Linked DNA regions of Homo sapiens: regions 1, 2, 3 and 5 are each linked to region 4. The links are contacts of gene promoters, found by promoter capture Hi-C in blood cells and fetal thymus (Javierre and others, 2016). All regions are on one chromosome and are shown on one strand. The core of a region is centred on a gene start or on the middle of the fragment in contact, and the rest is flanking DNA. Distances in the headings are between cores, read along the strand shown.

The links. Contacts are between HindIII fragments. The CHiCAGO score rates a contact against its expected background, and 5 or more counts as called.
Region 1: a contact is called between a fragment that was not itself captured here and the fragment with the promoter of DUSP26 in region 4, in 2 of 17 cell types (non-activated CD4 T cells and monocytes). The highest score is 6.3, in non-activated CD4 T cells.
Region 2: a contact is called between a fragment that was not itself captured here and the fragment with the promoter of DUSP26 in region 4, in 2 of 17 cell types (neutrophils and non-activated CD4 T cells). The highest score is 6.6, in neutrophils.
Region 3: a contact is called between a fragment that was not itself captured here and the fragment with the promoter of DUSP26 in region 4, in 1 of 17 cell types (monocytes). The highest score is 5.3, in monocytes.
Region 5: a contact is called between a fragment that was not itself captured here and the fragment with the promoter of DUSP26 in region 4, in 1 of 17 cell types (non-activated CD4 T cells). The highest score is 5.5, in non-activated CD4 T cells.

What each region holds. Positions count from the first base shown.
Region 1 is chr8:33,444,600-33,447,299 of GRCh38, reverse strand. All of the region lies in intron 3 of POFUT3 (protein O-fucosyltransferase 3), which reads left to right. Among named protein-coding and RNA genes, the nearest start is that of POFUT3, 27 kb to the left of the region's middle. The HindIII fragment of the contact is 3,773 bases long and covers 1-2,700 here.
Region 2 is chr8:33,403,507-33,406,206 of GRCh38, reverse strand. All of the region lies in intron 3 of POFUT3 (protein O-fucosyltransferase 3), which reads left to right. Among named protein-coding and RNA genes, the nearest start is that of POFUT3, 68 kb to the left of the region's middle. The HindIII fragment of the contact is 1,008 bases long and covers 755-1,762 here.
Region 3 is chr8:33,464,462-33,467,161 of GRCh38, reverse strand. All of the region lies in intron 1 of POFUT3 (protein O-fucosyltransferase 3), which reads left to right. Among named protein-coding and RNA genes, the nearest start is that of POFUT3, 7.3 kb to the left of the region's middle. The HindIII fragment of the contact is 8,691 bases long and covers 1-2,700 here.
Region 4 is chr8:33,598,722-33,601,421 of GRCh38, reverse strand. It overlaps DUSP26 (dual specificity phosphatase 26), which reads left to right and starts at 1,399. Exons shown (of 4, transcript NM_024025.3): 1 at 1,399-1,757. The HindIII fragment of the contact is 17,028 bases long and covers 1-2,700 here.
Region 5 is chr8:33,381,836-33,384,535 of GRCh38, reverse strand. All of the region lies in intron 4 of POFUT3 (protein O-fucosyltransferase 3), which reads left to right. Among named protein-coding and RNA genes, the nearest start is that of POFUT3, 90 kb to the left of the region's middle. The HindIII fragment of the contact is 2,478 bases long and covers 203-2,680 here.

The DNA.
Region 1 (2,700 bases), core at 201-2,700, 150 kb after region 4:
TTTTTTGTATTTTTAGTAGAGACGGGTTTTCAGTGTGTTAGCCAGGATGGTCTCGATCTCCTGACCTCGTGATCCTCCCACCTCGGCCTCCCAAAGTGCTGGGATTAACAGGCTTGAGCCACCGCGCCCGGCCTGGAATCACTGTTGTAGTCCTCCATGACCCGATGTGGTAGAGAGCAGGTGTTCTGGTTGAAAAGGTCTCCCGAGCGATGAAGTATCTCTCCATACACCATCTATGGATGACGAATTCCCAGAGGCTTGTAATGAAATACATTAAGAAAAACTGAGAGCAGACCTAGTCGATGCTTCCTTTGTTTCAGAGGATGCTTCGGGATTTCTCAGTGCCTTCATGTGATCACGTGTAATTAAAAAGAGAGGCACACCCAGGAGGGAGCCTGACTGTTCAGGCAGGGCCTCTCAAGGGTCAGACCTCTGCTGCAGTCCTCATTCTTCAATATCTAGTCAGTTTTTTCAGTTCACAAAGAATCAGTAAAACTTTAATGAACCGAATGGCATTGACCTACATAGGAGATTCATGCTTATAATAAAAAACCAACTTGTTGGTGTCTTTGCATGGGAACAGGAGTACTGATGTTTATTGCTCAGGGTACCTAGTCCTGATGATCAGGTTAGACAGAGAATGGCATTAGAATCATGAGGTTGCTTAGTGAGCTTAGAATTACAGTAAACACTTGAGCAATGGACCATCCAAGAAATGAGAAAGCCTCATTAGCTTCCTTTGTCCCTAACAAAGGAGCAGTAATAATGATCACTGTCATTAATTGGTACCTACTCTGTGCCAGGCGCCAAAGGACACTGTCCAAGTATTTTTTTTTTTTTTTTGTAATAGGATCTTGCCTTGTCACCCAGGCTGGAGTGCAGTGGTGTGATATCGACTCATTGCAACTGCTGCCTCCTGTGTTCGAGAGATTCTCGTGCCTCAGCCTCCTGAGTAGCTGGGACTACAGGTGTGCGCCACCACACCTGGCTAATTTTTGTATTTTGAGTAGAGACGGCATTTCACCATGCTGGCCAGGCTGGTCTCGAATTCCTGACCTCAAGTCATCCACCCACCTCGGCCTCCCAAAGTGCTGGGATTACAGGCATGAGCTACCGCACCTGGCCACCAGTTGTATCTTTTTGCATTCCCCAGCTCAGACCCCTTCCCCACTGGAAGGCTGCCATGGTCTTTCTGCTCTATACCCTTTCCTGGTTCCTCTTCTCCCTCCCTCTCCAGCTGCTTTCTGGAGCCTGTCAGAGTTGCAGTGAGGACAGGAAGGAGAATGAAGGCACAGGACATTTCTTAATTGGCTGGGTGGCTTTATGTCCTCTGAACCTGGCAGGTGGTTGGAGCTGGTGTCTTTGGGTGGGTCTGGTAGGTGATGCAAGTGAACTTTTTTTTATTCTGAGGTGGTTTCTGGCATTTGAAATTTCCTTGCTGGACTTGTTGCTTTTATAGTTTCTTTTCCTAGGAAGCTGCATCTCTGCTGTGGGTAGTCATATGGGACAGCTTCCCAGCACCTGGCATTTTGCAGACCACAGCCAGCTTCTTTCTGCAGAGGTCTCTGGTCTCTATGTCCTCATGGTTACTTTGGAATCTTGATATCTGTCCTTTTAGTTCCATCTCAACATTCAGTTCTAGAATGGCTCTTTGGAGGGTCACCATTTGCCAGGCCTCTTCTGTGTTGGAGAAACACAGAAAAGGAACAAGTACAGTCCAACATGATTATATCACCATTGATGGGATAGCAACCTTGAAAGATTTCCTTATACCGCCACCCCTGGTCATCTTGTACTGGGTGTCTCCTAAGGCTTCATGAGTGACATATCTATGACCCATTCTCAGGAGTAGAGATTTCTGCTGATCTCATCCATTTCATGTTGATTCTTACTAGTTTTTTTCTCCAGAGGTTAGCTTTATTTTGGAAACTGTGTATTGAATGTAGATAGTAGGTAATTGTCATTTATAGTGTGCCAGATTTAAGACTTTTTTGGGAAGTGGCAAAGAAATGGGCTTAATTAGAGTGTTTGGCAGTAATAAAGTTGGACATAAAAATGAAGGTCATGGCTAGGCGCAATGGCTCACACCTGTAGTCCCAGCCCTTTGGGAGGCCAAGGCAGGCAGATTGCTTGAGCTCAGGAGTTTGAGACCAGCCTGGACAGTATGGCAAAACCCGGGCTCTACAGAAAATACAAAAATTAGCTGGGCATGGTGGTGCGTGCCTGTAGTCCCAGCTACTCTGGAGGCTGCAGTGGGAGGATTGCTTAAGCCTGGGAGGTGGAGGTTGCAGTGAGTCGAGATTGCACTATTGCACCCCAGCCTGGGCAACAGAGTGAGAACCTATCTCAAAAAAAAAAAAAAAAAAGATGAAGGTCATAACTGAACAATAGATTTTATATATATCTGCTCCAATAAGATACCTTGTTTAAAATAGACATCCATTTTTATTTAAATAAATAATAGTAATTATTATTATTTTTTGGGATGGAGGCTCACTCTGTCATCCAGGCTGGAATGCAGTGGCGTGATCTCAGCTCACTACAACCTCTGCCTCCTGGGTTCAAGTGATTCTCCTTCCTCAACTTCCTGAGTAGCTGGGATTACAGGCACACGCCACCACACCTGGCTAATTTTTGTATTTTTAGTAAAGACGGTGTTTCCCCATGTTGGCCAGGCTGGTCTCAAACTCCTGACCTCAG
Region 2 (2,700 bases), core at 9-2,508, 200 kb after region 4:
TATTTTTAAAGCTATGTTGATTCTATAGTATGGCTATAACTAAAATTATTTAACCATTCTGCTGTCAATAGTTTTTTAAGGCTACTTCTGTTTTTTGTTGTGTTACTATGAACATATTTATCTGTCTCTCCTCATATGTGCGATTATTTCTCTATCTAATATCTAGAAATTTGAGTTGCTGTGTTAATGGGTGAATTAAATTAAAAATTTACTACGTACTACTAACTTGGTCTCTGAAAAAGCTATACCAGTTTTCCCTCCAAGTTTGAACTTTTTTAATGGGAAAAATTGGAAACAAAGTAAACATAGTTAATTAAATTTTGTAAGCTCAAATCACAAACTGGGACTTTGCTCTGCTTTTAACAAAATTTTATTTATTATTTACTTATACATTTGATTGGTATAAAACTTCTCAGAAAAGCTTAGGACACTTGGCTTGTTGATTTATTTGGCAGTTATAATTTAATAGACTTCACACGAGCTCTGAGTTAGAATGAATCTGAGTGTTTCCCCATGACTGACTGATAAGATGTTTCTATATAATAAACACTAATTAAAATGTGATCAGCTTGGAATAATCAAGAAATTACCTGCAACTAAAAGATCTCTTTCATACCAAAGGTCAGGTTAAAAGTTGAGTTCTTTAGTATTTCCTTAATATTTCATTCCCATTTTTACAACTCACTAATTTCTTGAATCATCGACTATTTTTTTTTTTGTAAAGAATAACTGAATGCCAAAGTGTTGCTAAGCTTCATCATTTTTTAATGAGGTGGTAGTGCCACTTACTAGTCTACCATCGTAAGTAATTAAAACTGCCATACTTGTCTGAGTAAATGAGGCAGGAGAAAGTTCTTAAGACGATGTAGTGGTTTTGTGATCAATTTGCTTCACCTATTTTTCCTTTTTTTTTTGAGACGGAGTCTTGCTCTGTTGTCCAGGCTGGAGTGCAGTGGCACAATCTCGGCTCACTGCAACCTCTGCCTCCCGGGTTCAAGTGATTCTCCTGCCAAGGAGAATTTTGTGGGCCAAGATGAAAGAGACATGGATGATAGGAGGGCTTCTGGTCTGGTGGGGAGCTAAACAGGTGCACACATAACTACAGTTGAGTATGATCAATATTATAGTTCAGATCCATACAAAAAGCCACGAGATCACTGGATAGGGAGCAACATGAAGACTTGAGCAATTTGGAAAGTTCTTCCTGCAAAAGTATTCACTTTCCAGAGTCCTGTTGGCAGTAGCAAATTATCATGTATAGAAAAAAGAGCAGGAAAGGTCTCATCTACAACTCTGCTTCTTTTTTTGTTGTTGTTGTGATGAAACTTTAAATTTTATTTGTATAAATTTATGGGGCGCAAGTGTAGTTTTGTTACATACAAGTCAGGGCTTTAGGTTTTCCATCGCCTTAATAACATACATTGTACCCATTTGGTACTTTCTCATATTTGATGCTATTAAATGGAATAGTTTTCTTTTCTTTTCTTTTTTTTTTTAACACCAGTATGCAGACTTTCCAAATGTGATGAGACCTGCCATTGTCATTTAAATGCATTAGGCTGCATCCATCAAGAACTTGACCCAAAGTGGCTTAGCAATAAAGGCATTTATTTATTAAATTAGTCAGAAATCTGGGGCAGGCAGACCTGTTTTGTTCAGCAGTTCAACTTGTTACTGAAGATGTCCTTTTACTCTGCCATTTCTCCACATGGTGGGGAAGTCTTTCCACGTTGTGGTATGAAGCCCGTAGCAGCTGAAAGCTTTGTGAACTCACCTATCCAAGCACATCCCACACTCCCAAACTTTGTATAATGAGACTCCTCTCTGAGAACCCGAATTTTCTTTTTCTTTTTCTTTTTTTTTTTTTTTGAGACAGAGCCTTACTCTGTCACCCAGGCTGGAGTGCAGTGGTGTGATCTTGGCTCACTGCAGCCTCCGCTTCCCGGGTTCAAGTGATTCTTGTGCCTCAGCCTCCCAAGTAACTGGGATTACAGGCATGCACCACCACACCTGAGTAATTTTTGTATTTTTAGTCAAGACGGGGTTTTGCCATGTTGGCCAGACTGGTCTCAAACTCCTGACCTTGGGTGATCTGCCTGCCTTGGCCTCCCAAAGTGCTAGGATTACAGGTGTGAGCTACCGCGCCCGGCCTGGAACCTTCATTTTCTTACCCATGTTGTGTTTTTGTTCCTGTGCTCCTGTGCCTGTCTGCTGTGCTGAGCTGCAGATGTGTCCTGCCACAGCTTTGCAGGACAGGGATAAGTTGAGACAGGAAGCAAGAAGCCTTGCCTGTCAGGCTGCCCTTGGCATGACTGGAGTGTACGTGGGGATTTTCACCTCTTATTTTGGGGTCCATTCTGTTCCTTCTTTGAACCCCAGTCTCTACAGGATAGGGTGTTTTGGGACAGAGTTCGTCTTACTTTAGATATAAATAATATAAAATTAACCCATTATAAATTTATTTTTTATTTAAAAAATTTTTTAAAAGACAGGCTCTCACTCTCCCACGCAGGCTGGGATGCGGTGGTATAGTCATTGCTCACTGCAGCCTTGAACTCTTGGGCTCAAGCCATCATCCCACCTCACACTCTCTCCCTAGTAGCTGGGTCTACAGGCATGCACTGCCACACCTGGCTAACTTCAAAAATTTTTTTGTAGAGACAGGGTCTCACTCTGTTGCCCAGGCTGGTCTTGAACTTC
Region 3 (2,700 bases), core at 141-2,640, 130 kb after region 4:
AGCTGGGACTACAGGTGCATGCCACCATGCCTGGCTAATTTTTGTGTGTTTTTTTTGAGACAGAGTCTCGCTCTGTAGCCCAGGCTGGAGTGCAGTGGTACGATCTCAGGTCACTGCAACCTCTGCCTCCTGGGTTCAAGCAATCCTTCCTGCCTCAGCCTCCCAAGTAGCTGGGATTACAGGAGTCTGCCACCACACCCGGCTAATTTTTGTATTTTTAGTAGAGACAGGGCTTCACCATATTGGTCGGGCTGGTCTCGAACTCCTGACCTCAGGTGATCCACCCGCCTTGGCCTCTCAAAGTACTGAGATTACAGGTGTGAGCCACTATGCCCGGCCTAATCACCAGTCTTGATTGACATGGCTGCCAGTGTCCCTTTCTCCCTTACTGTTCTCTTTTGGTCTATTCTATTGAATTGGAGCCTGCTGTCCTTCATAGTGCTCTCTGCAAGTCTGCCTGTCCCACCAGTTGGAGGACTGCTGACTTGATGTCAGGCTCCTGGGTAACTAATACCATATACAGTATTAGATTGACTGTTACTGTTATAAATGTACCCTGAGGCCTGGATAATGGTTGTATGCTCTAAGTCACAATACTACTATCTACCCTGGCTGGGCCCTGCCCTGCCCTGCCCTTCTTTCCCCTTCCCTGCCCTGCCCTTCTTTTCTCTCTCCTTCCATTTTCCCTTCCCTTCTCCTTTCTCTTTCCTTTCCTTCTTTTGTTTTCTTTTTTGAGACAGTGTCTCACTCTGCTACCCAGGCTGGAGTACAGTGGCATAATCATGGCTCAGTGCAGCCTTGAACTCCTGGGCTCAGGTGATTCTCCTGCTTTAGCCTTCCAGGTAGCTGGGACCACAGACATGCACCACCATGCCCAGCTAATTTTTAAATTAAAAAAAATTTTTTTTGTAGAGACGGAGTCTTGTTTTGTTGCCCAGGCTAGTCTTGAACCCCTGGGCTCAAGGGATCTTCCTGCCTCAGTCTCCCAGAACCACCGCACCTGGCTGGCTCTGTTCTTTAGTGGTAGTTACTTAACCATACGTTGTTCCCTGAGACCTACTACACTTCTGGCTTTGGGAAGATAGCCTAGGTTGAGATTCTTTAAATATAAGGGAATTCATAATCTTAAAATTCTTCTGTCATAGTTCATAAAGCTATGCGAAGGTCCCAAAAAGCTCCTATGATAGACCTGAGCTATGCAGTAGCTATAAAAATATCCCAAACTCTGTCCTCAAATTGTATCTTTTGTTTTCCTTTATTACTGATTATTTCTGTACTTTTCACAAGCTGTCACTATGTTCCTTCATTTATCTGCTTTCCACACATCTTTGAGTTGAGTGAGCTGATATCTAGACTCACTTCTGTCTTTAAAAAATATGATCCTGTGGCCGGGTGCAGTGGCTCATACCTGTAATCCTAGCACTTTGGGAGGCCGAGGCAGGTGGATCATTTGAGGTGTTCAAGATAATTCAGGAGTTTGAGACCAGCCTGGCCAACATGGTGAAACCCTGTCTCTACTACAAATAGAAAAATTAGCTGGGTGTGGTGGCACGCGCCTGTAGTCCCAGCTACCCGGGAGGATGAGGCAGGAGAATCGCTTGAATTCAGGAGGCGGAGGTTGCAGTGAGCCGAGATTGCGCCACTGCACTCCAGCCTGGGCAACAGAGCGAGACCCTGTCTGAAAACAACAACAAAAGCAACAACAGCAACAACTCTCTCTCTCTCTCTCTCTATATATATATGTATGTATGTGTGTATATATATATATATATGATCTTGGGCAAATCACTTAAACTTGAGAAGGCTCAGCTTCCTTGGGAACTGGGAATAATAATACCTACCTTGCCTACTTTTCAAAGTGGTTATAAATAAGGTTGAGTAGAGTGATATATCTAAACATTTTTGAAAACAGTATAGTTTTATTCCCATTTTAGTAGGTGATATTATTTTACTACATAATCTGGGTTACGTTAATGATAACTATAATAAATTGCTTCTGCACATTAAATGAAAATTTGGTAATCTTTCTGTTATGCAAGGGAAAGAAATAGTGATAGTTAACATTTATTATTTACTATGAAGAAGCTGAGGCTTAGAAAGATTCAGTAACTTGTCTAAATTTATATTAAGTAAAAGAACCAGGATTGGGACCCAAAGTGCTAGCTCCATGTTGTGTGTGGTTAATAGCTACAAGCATCTACTAAGTAGGAGCAAAGGTACTTTACAGGTTCTTATAGATTTGTATTCCTTTTTTCTCTGATATACTAGCTGACAACTGTACTACATATGTTTTCTGTGGTTTAGGCAGGTAACCTGTGAGTGTTGGTATTGTCTGGTGGTAATTTTATAGTATTTCTTTTTTTAAAATTATTTTTTATTTTTTGAGACCAGGCCTGGCTCTGTCACCCAAGCTAAGTGCAGTGGCACAATCACGGCTCACTGCAGCCTCAATCTCCTGGGCTGAAGCAATCCTCCTGCCTCAGCCTCCCAGGACTAGGACTACAGACACTCACCGCCATGCCTGGCTAATTTATTTTTTGTAGAGATGGGGTCTTACTGTGTTGCCTAGGTGGGTCCTTCCACCTTGGCCTCCCAAGCTGTTGGGATTACCTGCATGAGCCACTGTGTGCAGTCAAGGAATTTTATAGTATTAATGCTAAAAAATATAAAGGAATGTGTGCACTTCAGATCGTAATACTC
Region 4 (2,700 bases), core at 150-2,649:
AGTGCTGGGATTACAGGTGTGAGCCACCATGCCCTGCCTCTTTGTTTTAAATGACAAGGATTTCATTTCATATTTAAACTGCTGTAACACAAGGGACAAGGAAAAGTGAAAAGAATTTTGTTTCTCTAGAGAAAAAAAAAGGCTAGGCGGTACATTAAACTTGGATGGCAGCCTGTCATGGAACCTGGGGATTGGTCACATTGGCCAGTACTTTCTCTAACCCAGAGATCAAAACCTGATCTGCCACCACTGCTGGGAATGGAGTCAGTCCTGGTTTCAGCTATAGCTGACACCATCAGCTTCAATCTGAGCCAATCTACTTTCTGCCTTTCTTCTAGTAGACAGCGAGAGTTCAAGCCAGCCTAGTTCTCAACAGCATCATCTGCTAACATTTATCATCTCCCCCACTTCCCTCTCACACAATAAGGTAGGCACTGGGGAAGGTAGCACAGTCCCTGCCTTCAAAGTGCTTACAATCTTGGTGCTTACAATAAAAATGCCGATCAAGTGAATATGTCACTAGAAGGCAGCACATGAGAAATTAATATGAAGATGGCCGGACACAGTGGCTCATGCCTGTAATCTGAGCACTTTGAGAGAAGGTGGGTGGATCACCTGAGGTCAGGAGTTCAAGACCAGCCTGGTCAACATGGTGAAACCCCATCTGTACTAAAAAACAAACAAACAAAGAAAAAATATATACAAAAAATTAGCCAGGCATGGAGGCGGGCGCCTGTAATCCCAGCTACTTGGGAAGCTGAGGCAGGAGAATGGCTTGAACCTGGGAGGCGGGTTACAATGAGCCAAGATTGCGCCACTGCACTCCAGCCTGGGCGACAGAGTGGGACTGCATCTCAAAAAAGAAAGAAAGAAATATGAAGATGAATGTTTTGAGAGTCTGGGGAAAGTGAAGTTCACTATGAGCTGAGCTGGTGGAAATGGCTTCCTGAATGAAGGAAATCCATGGTGCCTTCTCCATTTTGTGGGAGGCACTGGTTTAGAGAGTGGTTAAGGACATAAACTGCAAAGCCAGGCTGCATTGTTTGAACAAGCTCAGCTCTGCCAGTAACGAGCTGTGTGACCAGGGCAGAGTACCTAGCCTCTCTGTGCCTAGGTCGCCTCCTCCCTAAAATTAGGACAATAGTAATTATGTCTCCCTCATAGACTTGTGGGGAGTATAAAATGCCTTAAGCTAAATGAAGCACATGGCATATAATGAAGGCTAATGGGGGCTTCGGACCATTGTTCTTTATGACACGGTTTCTTGAGACCGAGGCATGTACAAGCCAGTGCACAGAATCGTGTCTATGTAATTAGTTAATTCTGTCTGGGAGGAGTGTGTGTGTTTAAGACAGTGCCTGGGATGACTTATAATGTAATCTTTAGGCAAAACGCTTTGTAATTGGTGCAGCTCTGAGAACACACGCATGCATTCCAGGCGGTGCTGCTGGGGCTCGGCGGGGCCGTGTCTGGTCTGCAAGGCGCGCGGGCTCGTGGGGGGTTGGCTGGGGAGCCCACGCTGCCTGGCGACTCGGGCCACCGAATGTGAGACCGAGTCCCTTTATGTCACCAGCGCACACGCTGATTTGAACCCTGCTTCGACGTGTGTGTCATGGCTTAAAAATAGCTGCTAATCTGTCAACCTGTCTTGGGCAGAAACAGCGGCGGCGACAGCAGCAGGAGCGTCATGGCCGTGGCGCTGTCTGCGCCGGCGATCCGCCTTTCGGACTGAGGCCCAGCGCAGCGCTTGCAAAGAGGTAGAGGGGCTGCGGCGGGCCTTCGCCTTTTCAGCTGGCTCTCCACGCTGGGGAGAGGCGCCCAGCTAGGGGCGACGGGGGAGGGAGGGGACCGGGAAGCGGGCACCCGAGCCCAGCGAGCCAGCCTCTCTCTCCCGGGCGCCCTCCCTCCGCGCGCGGGGCCCGGCTGCCAGGCTGGCGAGGACTGGGGCGACAGCCATGGACCTGTTACAAAGGCGACCGCAGGCGGAGGGAGGGAGCGGCGGGCCAGGGCCCCTGGAGCCGACGGATGGGATTGGAGAATGCCCAGGGCTGTATCCCTGGACAGAAAGGGGCTTCTGCATCCCCCGGGAAAAACAGCCCCACGGAGATCCTTCTTAGACCTGGGCTCCTTCACGCTTCCCCCATCCCATTCATCATCTCGTAGACAGCAGACTCTCTAAGAGGAAAGGTTGTATTGCAATACAGTAATGGGGTCTTTAGGCCTGGGTGCAAAGGTAGAAGAAGATGATGGTGATAGTGATGGTGGTGATGGTGGTAGTGATGATGGTGATGGTGGTGGTGATGATGGCTGTAGTGCTATATTTCTGTGCTCCTTCCGGACCCAGCCATTGAAAACTCTCTCTCCCTAAACTCCCTAACATCCAATCTTCCCTCACCAATCCTGGTCCTAAAACCCCTGCTTCTAATGCCTTGTAAGTGCTTGGTTTCTCTTGGCACTGGAGCAAGGGAGAGCTGGGCCCTGTCTAGGGGTGTGAGATGGGGACAGAGCATGGGCAGGGACAAAGATGGCCTCTCACTGCTGGTCATAGAGTTGAAGTCCCCCTGGCAGGAGGCCAGGAAGGGAGTGGAAGGGGATTCTGCAGGCTCCAGGACCTCCTGCTTTCAAACAGGCAGGACCACAGGTGTGAGAGGATGGGGAGGGAGGGGGAAGGGGCCTTGCCATTGTTGCCTCCCTGCCTGA
Region 5 (2,700 bases), core at 192-2,691, 220 kb after region 4:
AAGAAGGCATTCTGTAACCCCTGAGTGATAGAGTAGGCAGAGGTATGGGGGACAAGGAAGTTCCCCATGAGTATATCTAAGGTAGGTGTCAATTTCAGCAAGGACTAATTGCTATTCCTTCTCGAGTAAAAGGATTTTAGCCTGTCACTGGGAGACTAGAGACTAGATATTCTCCTCAAGGAATTGTGCCTTATCAGAAGCTTTAGCATTGATCATTGTTGCTGGTAGATCAGGTCTTCAACAGTGGCAGTGATGAATTCTGCCTGTGAGTGAGAACCAAAGCTCTTCTGTTCATGCATAGCCTCCATCATTCCTACAATGTCCTGTTCATGGGTCAGTGGAACCAGTATTGGGGTAACAAAGGGACAGGCTGGCTGAAATCCAATAACTCATAATACCTACCTGCTTGTTGTGAGCTTTCTCTCAGTGGCTGCTTATTGGTGTGCATCAATATCAGATACTGATTGGAGCCATGTTGATCCTGTGTAGATACCAGTTTCAGCAAGGCAGCTGCAGTTGGAACTACTGTCAGGTTAAGTTCCTGGTAGTCCCCTACCATCTACCATGATTTATCTGTTTTTTTTTTTTTCAGGGGTCAGAACGGTGAATTAAATGGTGGTGGTGGGGATTATGATGGGGAAAACTCCTTGGTCTTATGGGGCATTGATCTCTACAGTTTTTCCAAGATGATGGTGTTGCTTCAGACTTACTATCCTGTCTGAGGGGGCAGTTGTTTTTTGAGACAGTCTCACTCTGTCACCCAGGCTGGAGTGCAGTGGTGCAATTTCGGCTCACTGCAACCTCTGCCTCTTGGATTCAAGCAATTCGCCTGCCTCAGCCTCCTGAGTAGCTGGGATTACAGGTGTGCACCACCACGCCCAGCTAATTTTTGTATATTTAGTAGAGACGGGGTTTCAACATGTTGGCCAGGCTGGTCTTGAACTCCTGACTTCAAGTGATCCTCCAACCTCAGCCTCCCAAAGTGCTGAGATTACAGGTATGAGCCACCGTGCCTGGCCACTTACCCAGTTCTTGACAGTACACCCTAGCCTTTGCTGCTTCTCTTGGTATATAAGCTATTTCTTCTCAGAGTAGGGCCTCTGTTTCTCACTTAGGTGTTGAGTGCTGGTGATAAAGCAGGTGATATTAATTTTAATGGGGATTTACCACCAGCAATGGGGCTTTTATTGCCATCAGGTGAATAATGCTCTTTAGCGCCACTCCTGGTACCAACGATCTTAACCTGGCTTCCACAGAAAACAGAAATGGAAACAGAGGCATCTGTGCTGTGATTCTGTTAGGGAGTGCAGTCCTAGAGGGTTGGAGGGAGGAGTAGGGGAGTGAACCAGGGAAGGAAGGAGGGCAATGCGATGATGTTACTGAGCTGAGTGTTAAGTGGGAGTGATTGGTTCATCCTCAGGACCCTGCCCCTGAGAAGCACATACTGCACTCGGAATCATTCCTTCCAGGTAAGGAAGGGGAGAAAATTGATCCATGGGCCCTGCTTTCTCCGTAGTCCAAAATTTGTCCCACTGGTCCTAACTTGCTCTACCTTTTGGGTTGCACGTGTGTGATATGGGTGCTGAGAAGAGTTCCACAGTGACTCCAACAGTTAAATTCTAGAGCAGGAAGTCACATGGAAGGAGGTGAGGTGTACTGTTGGTCAGAGCCCTGTGCAGGTGGGGCAAGGGATAGATGAAGTTGAGAAGTTCAGGAATCTGCTAGAGGGCGGTACTCTTACCCTCGTTCATGCCTGCTCTCCCCTAGTCTAATGATCTACTGTTAAGTTTCTTTGGACAATACTCAGCTGCTGCTGGGGTAGGAGAACGTCAGTTTCTTGCTTGTGCACAGTGATGATTTGGGTCTTCAGTTGCCTCCTACAAAACTGGCAACCACTTCCCTTTCAGCCCCTTCTTTACACCCACTGCCAGAGTTCTGTGCGCCACCAAATTCTGCAGCATCTTGTGCAAGCTGCAGTGAACGTTGAGTTGCTTTTCTGCTTTCCCGCTGCTTCTTAGAACTCAGCTTTCTCACATCAACTAAGTCATTTGCCACCCATCTGTTAACTTTGCAACTTCCGAAATTTTTTGTTTTCCTTATCATTTTGTTTTTCTTCAGGAATCTATGCCATAAAAAAAAAAACCACCTTGCTGTCATTTTATGGGATTTCAGGAGGGAATGAAATTAAAAGTGTGTGTCTAGTCAACCATTTTTATTTGGAAATCTCCATTTGATTGATTGATTGATTGAGACAGGGTCTCTATCACCCAGGCTGGAGTACAGTGGTGTGATCTCGGCTCACTGCAACCTCCAGCTCCGAGGCTTGAGTGGTCCTCCCACCTCAGACTCCCGAGTAGCTGGGACTGTAGGCGCAGCCACCATGCCTGGCAAATTTTTGTAATTTTTGTACAGATGGAGTTTTGCCATGTTTCCCAGGCTGGTCTCGAAGTCCTTAGCTCAAGCAATGTGCCCATCTCAGCCTCCCAAAGTGCTAGGATTGCGTGTGTTAGCCACTATGCCCAGCCTATTTTCTTTATTAAACAAACTAGTTGAAAAAAATTGTATTGAAGGTGCGCTCTGATTCGGGCATTATTGTGCTAGATAATGGTAAGCAAGAAAAGACATGGTCCCTTGTCATAGGGCTTACAGTTTAGATTAGACATTATTAAAGGAATAAGCTTTGTGCACTGTGAAGGAAAA